Linked DNA regions of Homo sapiens: all the other regions are linked to region 1. Evidence: promoter capture Hi-C in 16 types of primary human blood cells and fetal thymus (Javierre and others, 2016). All regions are on one chromosome and are shown on one strand. Each heading gives the region's core, a stretch centred on a gene start or on the middle of the fragment in contact. The rest is flanking DNA. Distances are from core to core; before and after follow the strand shown. Region 1 holds the start of LRRC10 (leucine rich repeat containing 10). Region 2 overlaps YEATS4 (YEATS domain containing 4). Region 3 has its middle 41 kb from the start of YEATS4.

What was found. Contacts are between HindIII fragments. The CHiCAGO score rates a contact against its expected background, and 5 or more counts as called.
Region 2: a fragment that was not itself captured here is called in contact with the fragment with the promoter of LRRC10 in region 1 in 1 of 17 cell types (M0 macrophages); the score reaches 5.8 in M0 macrophages.
Region 3: a contact is called between a fragment that was not itself captured here and the fragment with the promoter of LRRC10 in region 1, in 3 of 17 cell types (M0 macrophages, M1 macrophages and M2 macrophages). The highest score is 6.0, in M0 macrophages.

Annotation. Positions count from the first base shown.
Region 1 is chr12:69,608,780-69,613,012 of GRCh38, forward strand. It overlaps LRRC10 (leucine rich repeat containing 10), which reads right to left and starts at 2,128. Exons shown (of 1, transcript NM_201550.4): 1 at 1-2,128. The coding sequence starts at 2,059. The coding sequence ends at 1,226. The HindIII fragment of the contact is 9,863 bases long and covers 1-4,233 here.
Region 2 is chr12:69,378,900-69,383,132 of GRCh38, forward strand. All of the region lies in intron 6 of YEATS4 (YEATS domain containing 4), which reads left to right. Among named protein-coding and RNA genes, the nearest start is that of YEATS4, 21 kb to the left of the region's middle. The HindIII fragment of the contact is 4,107 bases long and covers 1-3,772 here.
Region 3 is chr12:69,398,821-69,403,053 of GRCh38, forward strand. It overlaps a transcript of YEATS4 not described here and the pseudogene RN7SL804P. Among named protein-coding and RNA genes, the nearest start is that of YEATS4, 41 kb to the left of the region's middle. The HindIII fragment of the contact is 1,872 bases long and covers 1,321-3,192 here.

The DNA.
Region 1 (4,233 bases), core at 878-3,377:
ACCTACTACCTTTAAACTAACATGCTTCTGGAAATGTGGTTTTCCTCCAAGGACAGGGATTCAATTTAGCTCAGCTCTGGCTCATTAGTGTGAATAAACAGAAGGGCTTTGCTTCAGGGAGGTAGACAGGAATCACAACAAGGCTTGACTTTAATGAGACCACATTACCACAGAGGTTCTCTTTTCCAGATGACTTCCAACATTGTCAGTGACAGTCAACTGTTGGGAGCAGATCTTGGGACAAACCTTTTAGGGAAAATGAACTAAATCAGCATGAGCCACTGTCAAGTTTAAGGTGACAGCTGAAGGCTGGGTGTGGTGGCTCATGCCTGTAACCCCAGCACTTTGGGAGGCTGAAGCAGGAGCATCGCTTGAGCCCAGGAGTTTGAAACTAGCTTGGGCAACATAGCAAGACCTCATCTCTACGAAAAAATTAAAGACTTAGCCAGGTGTGCACATCTGTAGTACCAGTTACTGGGCAGGCTGAGGCGGGAGGAAGGCTTGAGCCCAGTAGTTCGGGGCTGCAGTGAGCCATGATTGTGCCACTGCACTCCAGCCTAGCAACAGAGTGAGACCTTGTCTCTAATAATAATAAAAGGGGCAGCTGGAGTCCACCAAGAAGTATTGTCCATCAGGGATCTTTTCAGCAGGCACTAAACTGCTGGGGAAAGAGTTTCATCTTGAGCCTTTACAACAACAAACAACTTTTTTCTGTGAATCTGACTGATTGCCTAGGTAGAAATGTCCTTTTCGGTGGCCTCAGTGATACATTGATACTGTTTATGGTCATTTACAGTAAAGAAAATATGTCCTGCAAAGAGACAGACCACCAGAATATTTAGTTCTATGGCAAATACCTTATTTGAGGAGCTCATGAGCTTCATGACCAGTCACTTCTGGAGAGTGCAGGAGTTCAGAGTGTCCCAGCCCCTTTTGCTCTTCAGTGTTTCAAAATACATGTGTGGAGAAGCTGTTTTCTTGCAAAGAAGTTATGATCTCTGGATTGTCATGCCATCATTGGCACACAACTCCCCTCTGGAAGAGGAGCTGTTTGCCAGAAATATTTTCTCAGTGTGATTTATGGCATTCCACCTGGCTCTCTCCATCAGTCTCTACTAGCAGAGCCACTCCCAAATGACCCAGAGCCATCCTTTCCACTCCAATGGAGAGGCTTCCAGAACATGCTGCAGTTGGGTCCTTGGCATTGACTTGCAACTGAAGCTCCTCAGGAGTTGGTAGGAGGAAGTAGAGGGACTGGTGCCTGTAGCTCCTGGCTTTCCTCTCTGACCAACGCATAGCGCCTGGCTTTTCTAGGGTCGGGCTCTGGCGTCTCCTCTGCCCATCTCCCCACACGGCGCACACCTTTGGCCACCTTGGGTGCGTTCCTGCAAGGATTGTGGTCATAGATGACCAGCTTCAGACTTGACAGGTGCGCCAGGCTGGGGAAGTAACGGATGCTGTTCCAGTCCACATCAATCACCTCCAGGAAGGGCATGTGAAGCAGCACAGTGGGAAAGTCAGTTAGCCGGTTGCCCGAGAGCCAGATGGTCCTCAGCTCCTGGAGGCGCCGGAGCTGGCCTGGCAGCAAACGCAGGGCGTTGGAGCCGGCATGCAGAGTCTTAAGGAGACTCAGCTCACAGACCACATCCGGCAGCTGGGTGAGGCAGTTGGCCTCGATCCACAGGGTCCTGAGGTTCTGGAGCAGGCTCAGCTCACTGGGGAGGTCGCAGAGTTTGTTGTTGCCCAGGTAGAGGATGCAGAGCTGTTTCAAGGTGCACACCACCTGGGGCAGAGCCTTGAAGTTGTTGAAATCCAAGGCCAGAATCTGCAGGTTCTGTAGCTGCCCCAGCTCCGGAGGCAGGCTATTGAGGTGGTTGTCGCTCAGGTAGAGCTTGACCAGCTCCCTGAAGGAGCACACGTGCAGGGGGAAGCGGCGTAACTGGCTCCCACTCAGATCCACCATCTTGTCCAGCGGCATCTCACGGAGGTCCCTGACCACATAGTTCTGGCAACGGTCAGCAGGGATGAAGGCCACGAGGGCCCTGATGGTGTTCCCCATGCGGAGGCTGGGGGCATGGCGAGCCCCAGAGGACAGACTCACTGAGCGGGGCTGGCTCAGCTGACTGCTCTGGGGCCTATCCTACCCTCCCATTATAACTTGGGGATTGCATGACAAAAGCCAGTCACTTTGACAGAGAAAAGTGCTCCTGATAGCAACTTGAGTGTCCGGCGACAGCGCAACAGTCCGGCAGGGGCTGGGAGGCCATGTCTGACTCACATGCTTGCCTTTAATCACCTAAGCCCCAATCCCCTTTATCAACCTTTTTTCATTTCAAGCTGAAAATAGCTTTGCTGTTTTTTTCCCTAATGATAAAATATTAACACATTACATAAAGGTGTAAAAGAAGAAAATGAAAAACACCCATAGTTCTATTACCCAGAGATAAATACTGTACACATTTGCATGTGTCCTCTAGTCTTTTCGCTATAAGTAATCATTTGTTTTTTAAAATTGCACTTTAGGAGCTTTTTTTTTTTTTTTTTTTGACAGGGTCTCATTCTGTCACACAGGCGGGAGTGCAGTGGTGCAATCTTGGCTCACTACAGCTTCTACCTCCCTGGCTCCAGCAATCCTCACACCTCAGCCTCCTGAGTAGCTGGGACTACAGGTGCACACCACCGTGCCCAGCTAATTTTTGTATTTTTTGTAGAGATGAGGTTTCGCCATGTTGCCCAGGCTGGTCTTGAACTCCTGGGCTCAAGAGATCTGCCCGCCCTGGCCTCTCAAAATGCTGGGATTACAGGCGTGAGCCATGGTACTTGACCAGGAACCTTATTTTTTAATCATGACGTATCATGGACATATTTTCATGTTTGCAGATATCTATGCAATTATTTTAAACCCCTGCATAGTATTCCATTACATGGATGTGCAGTAATTTAAACAGTTTTCTGTGGTTAGGCATCTAGGTTGTTTACAAAGCATGACTATTATAAACATCCATGTGCATACAGATGTGAGCAGCAATCCACTCATTTCTTTAGAAACCGTCCTTAGAAGTGTTGCTGGAGCAGGCCAGGTGTGGTGGCTCACGCCTGTAATCCCAGCACTTTGGGAGGCCAAGGTGAGCCAATCACTTAAGCCCAGGAGTTTGAGGTCAGCTTAGGCTACATGGTAAAACCCCATCTCTACTAAAAAAAACAAAAATTAGCTGGGTGTGGTGGCACACACCTATAATCCCAAGTACTTGGGAGGCTGAGGCAGGAGAATGGCGTGAACCCAGGAGGCGGAGCTTGCAGTGAGCCGAGATTGCGCTACTGCACTCCAGCCTGGGCGACAGAGCAAGACTCCATCTCAAAAAAAAAAAAAAAAAAAGTGTTGCTGGATCATAGATATGCATCATTTACAGGTTTTTCATTGATGGCTCCTCTGTACCCCACCAAATCTGAGCCAGTACACACACCCACCAGCAATGGTTACAGGTTTCTAATTTCTCATGTCTTCATTCTTATCAGATGATATCTTTCCACAGTTTAAAAACTTGCCTTTGACAAAAGATAAGTAGAAAAGCAGAAGAAAGAGAAGCAAGCTAGCCTTCTGCATGTTAAATAAATTCGGATGTATTCCTACAGTGCACCTTTGTCAGGTATGTTTGACCACCCATTAAAGGTTTGTGTTTCCCTTCCACAGTGTCCAGTTGTTCCAGACAAGCAGCTGTCCAGCCAGGACAATTTCCTAGTGCTGGTCTACAGGGGAAACTCTTCAAGTTCTGGCCAAAGTAATGTGGGCAGAAGTGTTAGATGTCACCTCTAGACTTGGTTCATTGTAAAACAAACCTTTTGCCCTTCTCCACACTCTCCTTCCCCATCTACTGGCTGGATGTTGTCACCCAGAGTGACTATAGCAGCCACCAAGTATATGGAAGTCATATGTTGCAGGTGGCAGGGCCGTGGTCATCCTAGATTCCTGAATAAGTGCTAAGAGCAAAACATCTCCTTACCCTCCTCACTCCCACTTGATCCCCAATAGGATTGAGGTAAATGAGAAATAAATGTTAATTATGTGAAGTCATCGAGATTGGGGGCTTATCTTTTATACTACTTTATACATACAGCAGTTGCTAAAAATAAGGAGGCAAATCCACATATACTGATATGGGAAGTGATTCCGGATAAATAAAGTAGGGAGGGAAAAAAGCAAATTTCAGAATAGTTTTTTAATGATTCCCATCT
Region 2 (4,233 bases), core at 469-2,968, 230 kb before region 1:
TGCTTTTCTTTCAGATTGAAGAACTTCAGCATTTCTTGTAGGGCAGCTCTGGTGTTGATGAAATCTCTCAGCTTTTGTTTGGGAAAGCATTTCTCCATGTTCGAAGGCTATTTTCACCAGATGTACTATTCTAGGACAAAAGGCTTTTTTTCCTTCAGCACTTTAAATGTCATGCCACTTTCTACTGGCCTATAAAGTTTCCACTGAAAAGTCCACTACCAGATGTATTAGAGCTCCATTGTATGTTACTTGTTTTTGTGTTTATTTCCTCTTGTTGTTTTTAGGATCCTTTCTTTATCCTTGAGATTTATGAGTTTGATTATAAACTGCCTTGAGGTAGTCTTCTGTGTGTTAAATCTCCTTGGTGTTCTATAACCTTCTTGTACTTGAATATTGATATTTTTCCCTGAATTTGGGAAGTTCTCTATTATTATCCCTTTGAATAAACTTTCTACTCCTCTCTCTCTCTATCTCCTCTTTAATTAAGGTCAATAACTCTTAGATTCTACCCCTACCCTGCCTTTTTATTTTGAGACAGGTCCTGACTTTGTCACCCAGGCTGGAGTGCAGTGGCATGATCTTGGCTCACTGCAACCTCCACCTTCCGGGTTCAAGCAATCCTCTCACCTCAGCCTCCTGAGTAGCTGGGACCCACAGGCACATGCCACCACTATGCCCAGCTAATTTTTTTTTTTTTTTTTTTTTTTTTTTTTTTTTTTTTGGTGGAGATGGGGTTTTGCCATGTTGCCCAGGCTAGTCTCGAACTCCTGGGCTCAAGCAGTCCTCCCTCCTTGGCCTCCCAAAGTGCTGGGATCATAGGTGTGAGCTGCTGCACCTGGCCTGGATTTCCCCTTTTCTAGGTTATTTTCTAGAACTTGTAGATGTGCTTCATTTTCTCTTGTCTCCTCTCACTGTGAATTTGCAAATAGCCTCTCTTCAAGCCCACTAATTCTTTGTTCTGCTTGATCAGTTCTGCTATTAAGTGACTGATGCATTCTTCCATATGTCAGTGGTGTTTTCAACTCCAGCATTTCTGCTCGATTCTTTTAATTTCCATTTATTTATTAAATTTATGTGATAGGATTCTAAATTCTTTATCTGTGTTATCTTGAATTTCTTTTGAGTTTCCTCAAAACAGCTATTTTGAGTTATCTTTCTGAAAGGTCACATATCTCTGTTAGAGATTGGTCACTGATGCCTTATTTAGCTCGTTTGGTGAGGTCATGTTTTCCTGGATGGTCTTGATACTTGTTGATATTCATCAATGTCTGGGCATTGCAGAGTTAGGTTTTTATTGTAGTCTTTGTAATCTAGGTTTGTTGTACCTGTCCTTGGGCAGGCTTTCCAGGTATTTGAAGGAACTTAGGTGTTGTGATCTAAATTTTTGGTCACTGCAGCCATATCTGCATTAGGGGATACCCCAAGGCCCAGTAATGCTGTGGTTCTTGCAGATTTGTAGGGTACGACTTTGGTGGTCTTGGATAAGATCCAGAAGAATCCTCTGGATTAGCAGGCAGAGACTCTTGTTCTCGTCCCTTACTTTCTCCCAAACAAACGGAGTTTCTGTTTCTGTGCTGAACTGCCTAGACCTGAGGAGGGATGACACAAGCACCCCTTTAGCCACCACCACTGGGACTGCCTTAGGTCAGACTTGAAGCCAGCACATTACTGGGTCTTGCCCAAGGCCCACTGTAACCGCTGCCTGGCTGCCACCTATGTTTGTGTGAGGCCCTAAGGCTCTATAATCAGCAGGTGATGAAGTCAGCCAGTATCAGGGGAAATTCAGCCAGATATCGGGTGAAATTCACCCCCAATATTTCACGTAGGTTCTTTCCTATTTTCCCTAAGTGCCGGCCAGTCTGAGAAATAAAGGGACAGAGTACAAAAGAGAGAAATTTTAAAGCTGGGTGTCCAGGGGAGACATCACATGTCGGCAGGTTCCATGATGCCCCACAAGCCACAAAACCAGCAAGTTTTTATTAGTGATTTTCAAAAGGGGAGGGAGTGTATGAATAGGGTCTGGGTCACAGAGATCACATGCTTCACAAGGTAATAAGATATCACAAGGCAAATGGAGGCAGGGTGAGATCACAGGACCGGGGCAAAACTAAAATTGCTAATGAAGTTTTGGGCACATATTGTCATTGATAACATCTTATCAGGAGACAGGGTTTGAGAGCAGGCAACCGGTCTGACCGAAATTTATTAGGCAGGAATTTCCTAGTCCTAATAAGCCTGGGAGTGCTACGGGAGACTGGGGCTAATTTCATCCCTACAGCTGCGACCGTAAAAGACAGCCGCCCCTGAAGCAGCCATTTCAGAGGCTTACCCTCAGGGACACATTCTCTTTCTCAGGGATGTTCCTTGCTGAGAAAAAGAATTCAGCGATATTTCTGTCATTTGCTTTTGAAAGAAGAGAAATATGGCTCTGTTCTGCCTGGCTCACCGGCAGTCAGAGTTTAAGGTTATCTCTCTTGTTCCTTGAACCAATTGCTGTTATCCTGTTCTTTTTTCAAGGTGCCCAGATTTCATATTGTTCAAACACACATGCTCTACAAACAATTTGTGCAGTTAACGCAATCATCACAGGGTCCTGAGGTGACATACATCCTCCTCAGCTTACAAAGATGACGGGATTAAGAGATTAAAGTAAAGACAGGCATAGGAAATCACAAGGGTATTGATTGGGGAAGTGATAAGTGTCCATGAAATCTTCACAATTTATGTTCAGAGATTGTAGTAAAGACAGGCGTAAGAAATTATAAAAGTATTAATTTGGGGAACTAATAGATGTCCATGAAATCTTCACAATTTATGTTCTTCTGCCATGGCTTCAGCCGTTCCCTCCGTTCGGGGTTCCTGACTTCCCGCAACATCTCTCCCTTTCTTTTTATATAAATGTGCCATGGTGATGAAGGCTTGTTCATTCTCTTGATTTTTACCCAGGATTCTTTGACTGGTCCGGCACACTAAAAACAAGCTGATTAAACAGAGAAATGTAATTCCACAATTTACTACAGTGGAGCCCCCAATAGACTTAATCCAAGTCGTGGGGTTTAATCCATAAAGATTTTCTGCCACCTGATCTAACGCCTCAGCTCCAGGCACAATGGATAAGTGAGCTTGAGAGGCTTCAAAAATTTGTTTCTTTAATTTAGTTATGTCCAATGATAAATTATCTTCCCTACCCAGAAGGCGTCCTTTGACCATTTCCCATGAATAATCAGTCTCATTATAGGAATAGGGGATGATACAGAAATCCAAAGTATTCCAGTTGCACTGCATTTGCATGCGATGTTCGAGACTCACCACCCAATCTCCAAGCCAAATAACAGACTGTCTTAAATCATTAATTTGATTAGCTTGTGTCCATCCCTTAAGGGCACTGAGTTTCCCTGGGCTGCGGGTAGGTCCAGAGATTCTGTCCAGGAGCCAGGGCCTGGAGTTGGAAACCTTAGGAATAATCCTGGTGCTCTGTTTTACTGTGGCTGAGCTGGCACCCAAGCTACAAGACAGCATCCTTCCCATTCTTCCCTCCCCTTTTTCCAGGCAGATGATTCTTTCCCTGTGTCCACCACTACCACAGGCCCACAAGGAGTTCTGTCAGGGTACCACAAATATTTACTTAAGGCCCAAGGGCTCTTCAGTCAGCTTGTGTTGAATACTGCCAGGCCTGGGACTTTCCCTTCAGGGCAGTGGGCTCCTCTTGGCCTAGGTAGGTCCAGAGATGCCATCCAAGGGCCAAGGCGTGGAATTGGGGAGTTGGTACCAAAGCTTAAGACAAAGTCCCCTTTACTCTTTCCTGTGTGTGGAGGCTGTCCCAGTAATTCAGATTTGGTAGAATGGTGGCTTGGACCAGAGTGATAGCAATGGGAGAAGACATTAGATTTTGGACCTGATTTGAAAATAGGTACAGGAGGATTTGCTGATGTTTTGAATAATGAGGTATTGGAGAAAGAAAAGCAAAGGATGACTTACATGGTTTTGGGCCTGAGGAACTCCAAAAAAGTCATTGCTTTTTACACAGGTGGGAGGTCTTGGAGGAACAGGTTTTTGCAATTCAGAGTACAGCTTTGGCGGCCAGGTGTGATGGCTCATGCCTATAATCGCAGCACATTAGAGGGGCTAGCATGGGAGGATTGCCTGAGCCCAGGACTTCAAGACTAGCCTGAGCAATGTAGTGAGACCCCATCTCTACAAAAAAAATTTTTTTAATTTTCTGGGTGTGGTGGC
Region 3 (4,233 bases), core at 1,007-3,506, 210 kb before region 1:
AAAAAAAAACGGCAAATTGATCTTCATCATTAAAAACTTTTGTGCTTTGGCCGGGTGTGGTGGCTCACGCCTGTAATCCCAGCACTTTAAGAGGCTGAGGCAGGTGGATCATGAGGTCAGGAGATTGAGACCATCCTGGCTAACATGGTGAAACACTGCTTCTACTAATACAAAAAATTAGCTGGGCATGGTGGCGGGTGCCTGTAGTCCCAGGTACTCAGGATGCTGAGGCAGGAGAATGGCGTGAACCCGGGAGGCGGAGGTTGCAGTGAGCCAAGATCACACCACTGCACTCCAGCCTGGGCAACAGAGTGAGACTCCGTCCCCCCCAAAAAAACAAACAAACAAACAAAAAAACTTCTGTGCTTCAAAGGACATTCTAAAAAAAGTCAGAAAAAAAAAACAAACCCACGAAATGGGAGAAAATATTTGCAACTCATATATCTGACAAGAGTCGAGTATCCAGAATATATAAAGAACTCTTACAACTCAACAATAAAAAGACAATTAAAAATTGGGCAAAAAATTTGAATACACATTTCTCCAAAGAAGATATTCAAATGGCCAATAAGCATATAAAAAGATGCTTAACATCATTTGGAAATACAAATCAAAATGATGATAACACTTCACATCCACTAGAATGGCTGCAATAAAAGAGACAGACAATAGTAAGTGTTGATGAGGATGTGGAGAAATTGAAACTCTCATATATTTCTGGTAAAAATGTAAAAAGATGCAACTGCTGTAGAAAAAGTTTCAGAGTTCCTTAAAATGTTAAACATAGAGTTACCATATGACCTCAAAATTCTTCTAGATATATACCCAGGAGAATTGAAAACATGTCCACACAAAAACTTGTGCATGAATATTTATAGGAGCATCATTCAGAATAGCTAAAATTGGAAACAATCCCCATGTCCATCAACTGATGAATGAATAAATCGAATGTGGTGTATCAATACAATGGATTATTACTCAGCAGTAAAAATGAATGATGTGCTAAACATGCAGAATGAATCTTATAAACATGCCAAATGAAAGATGCCAGACACAAAGGCCACCTACTGTATGACTCCACTTATATGAAACATCCAGAATAGGTAAATCCATAGAGACAGAAAGTGATTAGTGGTTGCCAGGAGATGGGTGGGGAAGGGAGGATGGGGAGTGACTGGGTGCAGAATTTTTTTACGTGGCGGTGATGGAAAAGTTCTTGAATTAAATAGTGGTGATCGTTACACAACCTTGTGAATATACTAAAAACAACTGACTTGTATACTTTATGGTATGTGAATTATATCTCAATTAAAAAAAAAAAGCTTAGTGTTACCATTTACTGAATACTTTATGTGCCCCATACTCAAGACAAGCCAGTGAGTACATCTCTTATCCCCACTTAGCAAAACAGGTTCAGGGAGATTAAGTGCTTTGCCCAAGGTCACATACTAGGAAGTCATAGAGCTGAGACACACAAAGCCCTAACATTCACTTAGCCACCAAGCTGTATTGATCAAAAGTTTTTAATAGTTTCCATTACATATCTAATAATACTCAATAAAATAGAAATATTTATTGTGTGTATATAAACAATACATTAATATGTATGCCATATATATATATATGTATATCTCCTACAAATTGATGAAAAAAATTCAATAGAAAAATGGGCAAAGAATATGATCAAGTAATTCACACATACAAAAAATACAAATGGTAATTAATAAATATTTGAAAAGGTATATGGCCAGGCATGGTGGCTTACGCCTGTAATCCCAGCACTTTGGGAGGCTAAGGCATGAGGATCACATGAGCCCAGGAGTTTGAGAACAGCCTAGGCAACATAGCAAGACCCCCCCGCCCAATTTAAAAAGTTTAAAAAAAAAAAAAAGGATGTATGAATTCACTAGTAATCAGAGAAATGCAAATTAACACAAGACAATTGTTGGTTCATTATAAAGACAAAATTTAAAGATGTCTAATATTCAGCCACAGAGAGTGAAAGGAACTTGGTACTCATACATTGTTGGTGTGCATTAAGAGTAATAGCCACTTAATATTACCTATCAGAATTTAAAATTTACTGAGTGCAGTGGTGCGTGCCTGTAGTCCCTGCTATTCAGGAGGCTGAGGTGGAAGGATCGCTCAAGTCTAGGAATTCTGACCTGTAGTGCACTATGCTGATCTGGTGTCCACACTAAGTTTGGCATTAATGTGGTGACCTCCGGGAGCAGGGGACCACCAGGTTACCTAAGGAAGGGTGAGCCAGCCCAGGTCAGAAATGAAGCAGGTCAGAACTCCCATGCTGATGAGTAGTGGGATCATACCTGTGAATAGACACTGCACTCCAGCCTGGGCAACACAGTGAGACCTTGTCTCTTAAAAAAAAAAAAAATTGAAAATTTACCATTTGATCAAGTAACTTCACTGATAGGAAATACTTTCATGTGTAAGGATGTTCATTGCTTGTTTTAATAGTGAAAAAATAGATATAAACCAAATGTCTACCTATGTCTACATAATTTCATGTAAATTCTCAGAAAAATATTACCAGGAGTTATTTTGGGGGAAAGCAGTGAAACTGGAGCTGGTGTTGGGGAGCATGAGTAAAGGGCTAGCAAAACTGTTTCCCTTTCTGCATGAGAACTCGACCTTTGGTGGCCAGTAAGGATCTTGCTGTGGGAACCTAAGCAGTGCTGCTAGGTAGACTGCTGCAGGGAGTCCTGGAAGGACATGCCCATGGCCCGATGGCAATCTATGCTTCCTTTGGAGTATCCGCTGAAGTATCTGAGTGTGGTCTAGATTGTGAGTTCATGTTTAGTTGAACCTAAAAAGACCTCCTGTTGGGCAGAGCTGGAAATTAAAAGTAAATTTGTAAGTTAAAAATTAGTTCATATACACCATCCATTTCAGCCAGTAGGATCTTCATGCTGTTCCTTAAATGTACTCTGAGGTTTCTTGTCTCTCACACGTTCTACTTTCTTTTGTTAAAGTATTTCCTTCCTTCCAGGCTGAAATTGCCTGCCAGCAAGTAAGCTCACCCTCCTCTAAACTACCTTAGCATCTTGCTTGCCTCTGTTTCACGGTGTTCAGCTCACCTAGAAAGGGAAAACTGGAATGGGTGATCTCCCAGATGCAGCTGTGAACCTAGGATTTTAACCCTAGATTTGTATTCCCATTCTTCAGACGGTAAGCTTTTTGGTGAAAGAGGAGGCGTTAGTCTTGTTTATCTTGGTAAGTGTGTGTAAAGCCCTTGGTAAGCCTCTCATCTGGGAAGTGCTCCATGGCATTTTACTGTTCCCTGCCAATTAACTTCCAGGGCCCGTCCTGGAACTATTCCACACCAGGGCCTAAGTCTAGTTACAGATCTTGGCTTTTCCTCTCTCTATTCTAGCCTGTCTCAATGCCAGGCACAGAGTCTGGTCCAGTTGTGTTCCAAGATATCACAAATAAATACATAGCTCACTACATGTCAAAAGTGAAAACCCCTAGATTTGGCCTAAAATGGGGCCATTCGTTGTGGGCCTAATTATGCTAGGGTTGTTCCTATACCTAAAATTTTAGGAGGTTAGACAAATATATAGTATGCTTTTTGTTGAGGTTTGGTGACCATAACTAAGCTATTTTTGTATCTCCAAAGAGCAACCTAAAGTCCCAGGACTGCTCTGTCCAGTCTTCTAGAGTTGGGATCCACAAACTTTTTCTGAAAAGGGCCAGATAGTAAGCATTTTATGGTCTCTGTCGTAGATCCTAAACTCTGCTATTGTAGCACAAAGGCAGTCAGACATAGATGAGTGCTGAGTTCCAATAAAATTTATTTATAGACACTGAAATTTTGAATGCCATATAATGCCATGTATCACAAAATATTTTCCTTCCTTTGCTATTTTTCTTTCTTTCTTTTCTTTTTTTTTTTTTTTTTTGAGATGGAGTCTTGCTTTGTCACCCAGGTTGGAGTGCAGTGGTGCAGTCTTGGCTCACTGCAACCTCCATCTCCTGGGCTCATGCAATTCTGCCTCAGCCTCCTGAGTAGCTGGGATTACAGGCATGTGCCACCACGCCTGGCTAATTTTTGTATTTTTAGTAGAGACAGGGTTTCACCATATTGGTCAGGCTGGTCTTGAACTCCTGACCTCAAGTGATCTACCCACCTCAGCCTCCCAAAGTGCTGGGATTACAGGCGTGAGCCACCACGCCCGGCTTGCTATTTTTCAAACATTGAAAAAATGTAAA